3 separate regions of the Homo sapiens genome follow, and regions 1 and 3 are each linked to region 2. Evidence: promoter capture Hi-C in 16 types of primary human blood cells and fetal thymus (Javierre and others, 2016). All regions are on one chromosome and are shown on one strand. Each heading gives the region's core, a stretch centred on a gene start or on the middle of the fragment in contact. The rest is flanking DNA. Distances are from core to core; before and after follow the strand shown.

The links. Contacts are between HindIII fragments. The CHiCAGO score rates a contact against its expected background, and 5 or more counts as called.
Region 1: a fragment that was not itself captured here is called in contact with the fragment with the promoter of GET1 in region 2 in 1 of 17 cell types (naive CD8 T cells); the score reaches 5.0 in naive CD8 T cells.
Region 3: a contact is called between a fragment that was not itself captured here and the fragment with the promoter of GET1 in region 2, in 1 of 17 cell types (total CD8 T cells). The highest score is 5.6, in total CD8 T cells.

What each region holds. Positions count from the first base shown.
Region 1 is chr21:38,759,028-38,762,401 of GRCh38, forward strand. All of the region lies in intron 1 of LINC00114 (long intergenic non-protein coding RNA 114), which reads right to left. Among named protein-coding and RNA genes, the nearest start is that of LINC00114, 13 kb to the right of the region's middle. The HindIII fragment of the contact is 1,211 bases long and covers 1,457-2,667 here.
Region 2 is chr21:39,378,349-39,381,625 of GRCh38, forward strand. It overlaps GET1 (guided entry of tail-anchored proteins factor 1), which reads left to right and starts at 1,978. Exons shown (of 5, transcript NM_004627.6): 1 at 1,978-2,138. The coding sequence starts at 2,037. GET1-SH3BGR (GET1-SH3BGR readthrough) reads left to right here and starts at 1,978. Exons shown (of 14, transcript NR_146618.2): 1 at 1,978-2,138. The HindIII fragment of the contact is 3,691 bases long and covers 1-2,265 here.
Region 3 is chr21:38,776,896-38,780,271 of GRCh38, forward strand. No RefSeq gene overlaps it. Among named protein-coding and RNA genes, the nearest start is that of LINC00114, 5.1 kb to the left of the region's middle. The HindIII fragment of the contact is 978 bases long and covers 783-1,760 here.

The DNA of each region.
Region 1 (3,374 bases), core at 812-3,311, 620 kb before region 2:
ACCTGGTACAGTCTGGCTGGGGCAAGAAACCACCAACATGATAAGCAAATGAATGTATAATGTAACAGAACATGGGTTGTGCCCTGAAGAAAAATAAAGACTGACCAGGAAAGGGGATGGGAGTGGGGAGAAAAACCATATTAAACTGAATTATACCTTCCACCTTACCTTGTATTATGATCAAAAGAAATCCCTCTGCTGTCCTTTCCTCCTGACACTCTTCCCACACACACACATGCACACACACACGCACATCTGTAAACCCCTGACAACAGTGGTGACGTCTATCTCACCTTTGTGCACCCCCAAAGCTGAACACAGCTATGCATGACTGACACAATTTTGTTAAACCAAAGAAAATCTTTTCATGATGTCTCCATTAATTTCATGTGGCCAACCAGCCATTCCTGGAAGTTTCTTGAACTCTCTGGAGATCCCTTCTGCCTTTAGGCATCTTCTGTCTACTCAGCGAGTAGTTCCTGGGGCTTTCCTAATGGCATTTCTGCTTATCCGATATCTGCTGGATGTCGTTCAGAAAAATGACATTGGAGGCTGAGGCCTCAAACTTTAGCTCCATATTCTTGGTCAGGTTTCAGATTTTCACTTAAACACAGCCCTGTCTGCGATGCCAACAGACTTTAGCTCAATTTATTATCAGAGGGCGATCTGGCACTCCCATACAGCTCCGCAAATGCCTCTGACTATCTAATAACTCATCATTAAACACCACATTCCCTGAGAGGCTGTGGAGACCAGGCAGGGAGGGCCTCTCCCTTCTGAAAAAAGGAGCCCCTTCCAGGGCTCACAACAAAATGTCAAGTTTGGCAAAAGATAAAAATAGAAGTCTTTGTTTCACACTTGCAAAAAGGCTCAAACTTTCACGTGTGCTTCTGTTTATATTAAATAAAAAGCCCATTTTTCTTGGGATAAAAGCATCTTAAGAAGAGTTGTAGGGAGAAGAGACTAGGTCCTTTCTTAACCGGAATTCAACTGATTAGACCCTGGCCAGACTCTCCAGTCAGACCCAGAAAGAGAAAACAGTGCCAATCCGAATGATTCAGCTCAATCCGTTCAAAACAACAAATCATGAAATGGCATCATGGACAGGCATGTTACGATAAGACTCTGCTAACGTGGCTTTTGCTGCAAAGTGGGAAATGGTTCTGGGAACTTACAGCTTTAATAAGATCAAACAATGCATCAAATGGAGGTCTGAGTTGGAGATCTGGGCTTCGACCTGCAGAAATAAGAATTGAGGCCTGTTGGGTGCTTCGCTGCTGGCAGTGCTCTCTCACGTGCCCTTTCCAGCTGGCTCTCACCTGATTCTCAGACACCTCTGAGAGCTAGGTGGTGTTCTCGTGTACATGTTAGAGATGAGGAAACCCAATCTCTGACAGCTGTCTATCCACCTGTTTGGAAGGGGCTGAACTGTGTTCCCCCCAAGCTCATCTGTTGAAGCTTTAACCCCCAGTACTTCAAAGCATGTCTTTATTCAGAGATAGTCTTTCAAGAGATAATTAAGATGCAGTGAAGTCATTAGCGTGGGCCCTAATCCGATCTGACTGGTGTCCTAACAGGAAGAGGAGATTAGAACACAGACATGACCATGTAAGGACACAGGGAGAAGGCGGCCGTCTGTAAGCCAAGGAGGGAGGCTCAGAAGGAACGAACCCTGCTCACACCTGGATCCCAGACTTCTAGCTTCCAGGACGGAGAAAATAAATGTTGTTGAAGCCGCCTACCCTATGGTACTTTATTATGGAAGCCCTAGCACACTAATACATTAAGGTAAGTTCTCTGAGGGCAGAATGGGGCTTTTGCTATTTCGATGAAAGTTCTTCGGATTCTGCAAAGCTGACCTCATATTCTGTGATGATTTTGGTAGAAGGCACACAGGCCACCTGCTCACTCCCTGCTCCTCTCATTCCTCCTCACTTTCCCTCCTATTTTCATCATCTTCCCTCTCCCTTTCTCCTTCTTTCACTCCAGGGGGATATGTTTGCCAACCATCTGCAAAGTGCCTACTGTGTTTCACGTAAACGCTTTTAATTTACGTAACTCATGCTATTTATCTCGTCATGATTTGACTCTTTTCCTTTTGGATAGTTTTCAAGATCAATCCTTGTTGCAAGATGAATATTTAACCTGTTACTTTTTTTTTTGGAGACAAGGTCTCGCTCTGTCGCTCAGGCAGGATTGCAGTGGCATGAACACAGCTCACTGCAGCCTCAAACTCCTGGGCTCAGGTGATCCTCCCACCTCAGCCTCGCGAGTAGCTGGGACTACAGGCATGCACCACCTCACACAGCTAATTTTATTTATTTTTCTAATAGAGATGGGGTCTTGCTATGTTGCCCAGGCTGGTCTTGAACTCCTGGCCTCAAGCAATTCTCCCACCTCAGTCTCCCAAAGAACTGGGATTACAGGTGTGGGCCACCACGCCTGGCCTAACCTGTAACTTCTAATTGACACCTCAACATTTCCGAAAATGCCTTTATTCTGCCTGTGCACTGGATTGATAGTTTCTATAGGTGTAGAAGCCCAGGTCGAAAACCACCTTCCTGCAGAAAGCCCCATCCTCTTGTCATTCCCAGAGCGGCTGCAGGGAAAGCTACAGCCATTCTGAGTCCTGAGTCTTCATGTGTTGCCTTTTTTCTTCTCCCTGGAAGCTTGTAAAATCTTCTTCCTGTCCTCACTGCTCTGAAATTGCACAGCAACGAGGCTTCGTGTAGGTCTATTTTTATCTCTTGTACTAGGCCCTTTAGACCTGCAAGCTGGTGTTATTCATTTCTGGAAAAGTTTCTTGAATTGTATTTTAAAGACTTACCAGCTTCTCTGTTCTCTCCTCCTGGAATTCATCTGGAAGCTGCATTTCCTGGTCTGGGCCTCCAATTTCATACATTCTCTCCCTTTTCTTCTCTCTTTTCACTTTGCTCTATTTTCTAATACAATTTTCCAGCCATGCCTTCTAATCCTTGTACTGGGTCTTTCATTTTGGCTATCATGTGACTTTCCCCAAGCTTGCCCAGTGCTTGTTATTTTCCAAATGTTGCTTTTTTATGGTCTCTCACTTTTTTTTTTTTTCTTTTGAGACAGAGTCTTGCTCTGTCGCCCAGGCTGGAGTGCAGTGGCGCGATCTCGCTCACTGCGAGCTCCGCCTCCCGGGTTCACGCCATTCTCCTGCCTCAGCCTCCTGAGTAGCTGGGACTACAGGCGCCCACCACCACGCCCGGCTAATTTTTTGTATTTTTAGTAGAGACGGGTTTCACCGTGTTAGCTAGGATGGTCTCGATCTCCTGTATGGTCTCTCATTCTTGATGCATAGAAGAAAACTCATCTCATCTCTCTAAAGGTGTTAACAGTAGGTGTAGTCT
Region 2 (3,277 bases), core at 728-3,227:
CATCCAGGTGGAAGGGAAGGCTATGGAGGAGAGCCAGACTCCTGCTCTTTGTTTTGGTCAGTTCAGAAGTCACTTAACCAATAAGTCCTTTCAGGGAAGGAATTCACTCTACCACTACAGAATAGTTTTGCTTCACATGTTTTCTTGACACAGAAATTTGTAGAACCACAGCCTCTTTCTTTTCTTTTCTTTTTCTTTTTCTCTTTCTTTCTCTCTTTCTTTCCTTTCCTTTCCCTTTCTTTCTTTCTTTCTTTCTTTCTTTCTTTCTTTCTTTCTTTCTTTCTTTCTTTCTTTCTTTCTTTCTGTCTCTCTCTCTCTCTTTCTTTCTTTCTTTCTTTCTTTTTCTCTTTCTCTTTCTCTCTTTCTTTCTTTCTTGACAGAGTTTCACTCTTGTCACCCAGGCTGGAGTGCAATGGTGCGATCTCAACTCACTGCAACCTCCGCCTCCCAGGTTCAAGCGATTCTCCTTCTTCTGCCTCCTGAGTAGCTGGGACTACAGGTGCCCGCCACCACACCCAGCTAATTTTTGTATTTTTAATAGAGACAGGGTTTTGCCATGTTGGTCAGGCTGGTCTCGAACTCCTGACCTTAGGTGGTCCACCTGCCTCGGCTTCCCAGAGTGCTGGGATTACAGGCTTGAGCCACTGTGCCCAGCCGCATAATTATTTTAACTGGTTCATAATAATGAGCCAGAGTTGTGCTCTGTCGCCCAGGCTGGAGTCCAGTGGTGTGATCACAGCTCACTGCAGCCTCGACCTCCCAGGCTCAGGCGATCCTCTCATCTCAGCCTCCCTAGTAGCTGAGGCCACAGGCACGTGCCACAGTGCCCGGCTAATTTTTATATTTTATTGTAGAGATGGGGATCTCACTATGTTACCCAGACTGGTTTCAAACTCCTGGGCCTGTGATCCACCTTGCTTGGATCTCCCAAAGTGCTGGGATTACAGGCGTGAGCCAGTGTACCCGCAATCTTGCATCATTTTGATTAGGAATTAGTCCTCAGAAACCAGTCATGGCAGCATGGCAGAAGAGACAGTTGAACATGTCTTGCTTTATCCACTAGGCATACTTTTTTTTTTTTTTGAGACGGAGTCTCGCTCTGTCGCCAGAGCTGGAGTGCAGTGGCGCGATCTTGGCTAACTGCAACCTCCGTCTTCCGGGTTCAAGCGATTCTCCTGCCTCAGCCTCCGGAGTAGCTGGGACTACAGGCGCGCGCCACCACGCCCGGCTAATTTTTGTATCGTAGAGACGGGGTTTCACCATGTTGGCCAGGCTGGTTTCAATCTCTTGACCTCATGACCTGCCCGCCTCGGCCTCTCAAAGTGCTGGGATTACAGGCGTGAGCCACCTCGCCCTGCTCACTTTGCATACATTTGAGTTGGGATTCTTTCGCTGCAAAACCTGATCTTCACCTAGATTCAGGTTAATTTATTAACTATTACTAATGATTGTGAACAGTGCATTCTATTAAACTTATTTTTCAGGTATGCAGTTGTGTAAATTGGTTAGACTTACTACAGTGTTTAGATCTGGAACGAAAACGTAAGGCATTTTCCATGTAACTGCTTGGAACACGACAGTTACCTGCTACTATAAAAACGGTAGTTTTCTATTTATGGAAGAGTTTTTCTTAAACTTATCTAGAATTAAAAGTTAATTTAAAGAAAGTACTAATTATGACAAAAGCAGGGAGTCGTTAGCACTTGAAACCAGAGTTTGGTACTATGAGAAGGTTTTTAATTTTAAAAAGAAGGAAAAAAAGAAACACGGACGTCAGAAAACTGGTTCAGTAGGGATGGGTGCTAGAAGGCTACGGAACCGCCGAAGGCCCAGGAGAAACCCGGAACGTGTTAACCGCTCCAACTGGAGCCGGACGAAAAAACGGCCCCGCCTCCCGCGAGGGCGACGCAGTTCGCAGGCGCGTCGGCGCGCCTGTTCTGGGGCGCTTGGCTTCACCGCGCAGGCGCGGTCGCCGCTGTTGTTGTGGTCCCCATGGAGCTGCCGTAGCGGACCCAGCACAGCCAGGAGCGTCCGGGATGAGCTCAGCCGCGGCCGACCACTGGGCGTGGTTGCTGGTGCTCAGCTTCGTGTTTGGATGCAATGTTCTTAGGATCCTCCTCCCGTCCTTCTCATCCTTCGTAAGTGGCTGCCTGGCCTCCCAAGGGCCGGTGGGGATGCCGCCCCAGTCCCCCGGCGGGTCTGGCGTAGGTACAGGGGTCTCAACTGGGCGACTGAAGGCCGTAGTAGCGTCTTGGTTGGTCCGTAAGCTTTTTTGAGATAGTTGTTAGCGTCTAAAAGGTACGACGCTTTACCCCAAAATCAGACTTTCTGGGTTCTAGGGGGTTGGGAGAAACACCGGGCAACCCTGGACTCTTCTGGCTGTGGGTGGCGGCGGCGAACCTCACACTGGGAGTTCCTAGTGCCCCGCTGTCAGCCTCGTTTCCGTTAATCCTGGTTCCTAGAGGCATTCGAGCAGCCCTCGGCCAGGGTTTCCCAGAGGCCTGGCGGGCGAAGTCAGCTGTTCCAGGTCCCGGAGAGATGGATCCTCGCGTCCAGGAGCCCACATTCTTGGGGTGGGTAGGGTGGGAGACAGGTGTAGAGAGAATCTCAGTACAGCGTGATGCCTTCAGTATCCAAGGGAGCAACCAGGTTGGGGAACACTCTCTTTCTGCCAGGTAGTGAGTACATTACCTCTGTCTCACGGCTGCTGGGAGAGGCGAGTATTATCATCCCACCCTCCTTTACCTCCCGGAGGAGTCTGGCTCAAGAGAATTTAGTGGTGGCACTAAGTCATCCACCTAGTGACTGGAGGTGGAGATTTGATTGCCTTTTGGAGCAGGGATAGGGATTTGGTGGCAAATTGGACAGGGCGTGGTGGGGTGTGGCCATGGAAGGCGGGGGTACCTTGGGAACTGTCCCCGAGAATGAGCGCCCTCCGTATGCCCACAGCAGAAATGAGGAGCTGTTGGGCAAAGGCGGAGTCCTCAAAGATTGGGCGCATTCGTTTCAGCGTTGTCTTGGAAAACAGTTCTTGCTTTTCTCTCCTAAGATAAATTGGTAGTAGTGGAGGATATTTTATTCCACCAGTATTCATTGAGTGCCTGTTTTGTGCAAAACTCTATTCTTACTCTCTCAATTGTCCTACTGTCTGCATTGTCCTGAGATATAGGGAATTCTCTTTTAACCCCTGAGTCTCCTTCAGAATCTTTCCTGATGCTATCCAGTCTTTAAGATGATGTCTCAGGCATTGCATAAAAGACTCCTGATGAGCTGGCCC
Region 3 (3,376 bases), core at 22-2,521, 600 kb before region 2:
GGAAGGGCAAAGAAATGAATTCTCTGCTGGAGCCTCCAGAAGGCATGCAGCCTTGCAGATACCTTGCTTTTAGGAATTCTGACCTCTAAAATTGTAAGATCATATATTTGTGTTGTTTTAAACCACTATGCTTGTTGTCATTTGTTACCATGGCCAGAAGAAATGAATGCAGACAATTTCAAATTTGAAGCTGATGAGACTTTAACCTGCCAAAAAATCAGAGTCTTGGACTCAGAAGGTCTTTCAACAGAGTCATGAAATCAGTCATTCTTCATGTGTGTGTAGTGTGAGCTCTCCTTAAGTGCCACAAAACACATCCTTGCCCATATTGGTCCCCAAGAACCCCAGCGTGGATGACAGTGCATCACACAGATGAAACTGGTAGAGTATTTTCTGGATGAATGAGCAAATAAGCAGTAAATGCTGCAATCTCTCTCTGGTTGAAGTCCTCAATTCCTCTTGCCTGAACCATTTCAATATCCACCTCATAAGCCTCCAGGCTCCAATCTTGTCTCCATTCCAACCTGCTGCCAGGGTCTTCCTCTCATGCAAGTGGTTATGTACATTTCATCCAAATAAAATTCAAATTCCTTAAAATAGCATATAGCTCTTTTTGGCTTCCCTGGGCAACATCAGAAGAAGAATTGTCTTGGATCACATGTAAAATATATTAACACTAACAACGGCTGATGAGCTAAAAAAAAAATAGTCACACAAAAAAATATCATAATATCTTAAAAAAGTATTGGGCCACATGTGGTCTGTGTGCTGTGGGTTGGACAAGCTTGGTCGAAAGCCTTCTATGGCCTCAGTCTATCACTCGAGCAGAAACCACCAACACCCACATGCTTTCCTGTCTGCGTTGGCAGAACTTCACTATTAAGTTGCCCTCTCTAATATGACTTTACTATTCTAAGAAATCGTTGCCCAGGAAATAAAAGTTACTAATTGTATTGTTTCAGGAACTTCCCAGAAAAACTAATTTAAGTGATTATCAAACTACTCAACTCTTCAATAACTAGTATCAAGGATTATTTACTCTCCAATACACTTCTGAGAACCCTGCCTTAAAACCCTCACCTTGCTGTCTTCACCAATCCTGAACCATTATATCATGATCCTTAATCCTATTCAAACTTCTTTCCCCATTGAAAGACCTGCCAAACCCCCTAAACCTTACAAATAGCCCAACTTTGTCATACTCACAGAAAATACTATGCAGACTTTGTTGAGATAGTTGTGTTGCTTACCATGGGAAGCAGTAAACTCAGCTTTGCCTGACCAGCAGGTTGTTGGGGTGATGTTTTTGGGGAGTCAGTACTGGACACCTAAGTAAACTTGTTACTTCATGCTTCCCTCTTCTAGAAGGCAGAATAATGGCTGTCCAAAGATGTCCACATCTTAATCTTAGGAACCTGTAAATATATTTCCTTACATAGCAAGGGGGAATTAAGGTAGCAGATAGATTTAATGTTGCTAATCGGCTGACTTTGAAATGATGAGATCATTGATACAGCTTGAATATATGTCCCTGTCAAATCTCATGTTGAATTGTAATCCCCAGTGTTGGAAATGGGGCCTGGTGGGAGGTGATTGGGTCATGGGGGCGGATCCTTCATGGCTTGGTGCTGTTGTGATAATGAGTGAATTCTCAGGAGATCTGGTTTTTAAGTGTGTGGCACCTTCCCCCTACTTGCTCTCTCTTGCCCTCATTCTCACCATATGAGATGCCTGCTCCATCTTCTTCCACCCTGATTGGAAGCTTCCTGAGGCCTCCCCAGAAGCCAACCAGATACAGTCACTATGCTTCCTACATAGCCTGCAGAACCGTGAGCCAAATAAACCTCTTTTCTTTATAAATTACCCAGGCTTAGGTATTTCTTTAGAGCAATGCAAGAATGGCCTAATACAATTATCCTAGATTCTCCAGGTGGGAACCCATGTAAACACAAGGATCTTTACATGTGGAAGGGGGAAACTGAAAGAGTCAGTGTCAAATCGATGAGATGCAGGAAAGACTCAACCAACCGTTGCTGGCATTGAAGATGGAGGATGGGGCCACAAGCCAAGGAATGGGCAGCCTTAGAAGCTGAAAAAGGCAAGAAATGCATTTCTACCTGGAGCCTCCAGAAAGGAATGCAACCCTGCCAACACCTAGATTTTAGCCTGGCAAGATCTGTATTAGACCTCTGACCTCCAGAACTGTAAGATAATCTTGTGTTGTTTTAACCCAGCAAATGTCTGTTCATTTGTTTTGGCAGCAGTAGAAAACCAGCATATCTCTCCTTGCTGATGCTCCTTTCTCCATCTGAAATCTCAATCTGATCTCACTCTTCTGCCTGTTGAAATCCTGCCTACCCTTTCATTTCAATGGCAGATCCACCTCCTCCAAGATACACTTCCCTGAACACCCCTTTTCTGAATTCTATCAGCATCTGGTTTGTTCTCCTTCATTATTTATTATTTTTATTTTTTTCAGATGGAGTTTTGCTCTTGTTGCCCAGGCTGGAGTGCAATGGTGCGATATCGGCTCACTGCAATGTCTGCCTCCCAGGTTCAAGCGATTCTCCTGCCTCAGCCTCTCGAGTAGCTGGGATTACAGGCATGCACTACCATGCCCGGCTAATTTTGTATTTTTTTAGTAGAGACAGGGTTTCTCCATTTTGGTCAGGATAGACTCAAGCTCCTGACCCCAGGTGATCTGCCCACCTTGGCCTCCCAAAGTGCTGGGATTATAGGCGTGAGCCACCATGCCCAGCCTGTTCTCCTTTATTTTATACGATCACATTTACTAGGGTATGTAGCGTATATCTTCTATGTCTTATAAATAACTTTTGCACAGCTGAATGGTAAAGATTTGTCTATTCTTTCAATGTAACCATACCATTATCCCTTTAGCTAGCTAAATAACATCCATGGTGGGTACAGAAGTATCCTGACAGAAGTCATGTATTTGAGGAATGAAATGTAAGTTCTTCATTAATTAAGGCTGGGAGAATCTTCCTCTTTTGGAAACTAATATATCAACTTGAAAGTCAATTCTAATAAGAAGGTTGAAAGAATGATATGGAAAGGAATTTGTGAATAATAGAAAAGAAATGAAAAGAACACTTTCTGTAAGGCTAGCTTCTCCACTGGGCATCAGGGCTGTTGCTTTGAGCCTATAGCTTTTCTAGCGCCTATGAAAATATTTGAAAGCCTAGACAAGAAAGAAACATCAGGAAGTTAAAATAGGTTCATCAAATGTCTACAAAATGTAACCTTATCTCAACTCATTAACTGAATTTTGCATACATACAAATTCCATTACATTTGCAAAAAATGTGTAAGTTTGTTTTTCTCACTTCATCAGAATTCAGAATTCTCAAGCATGCAC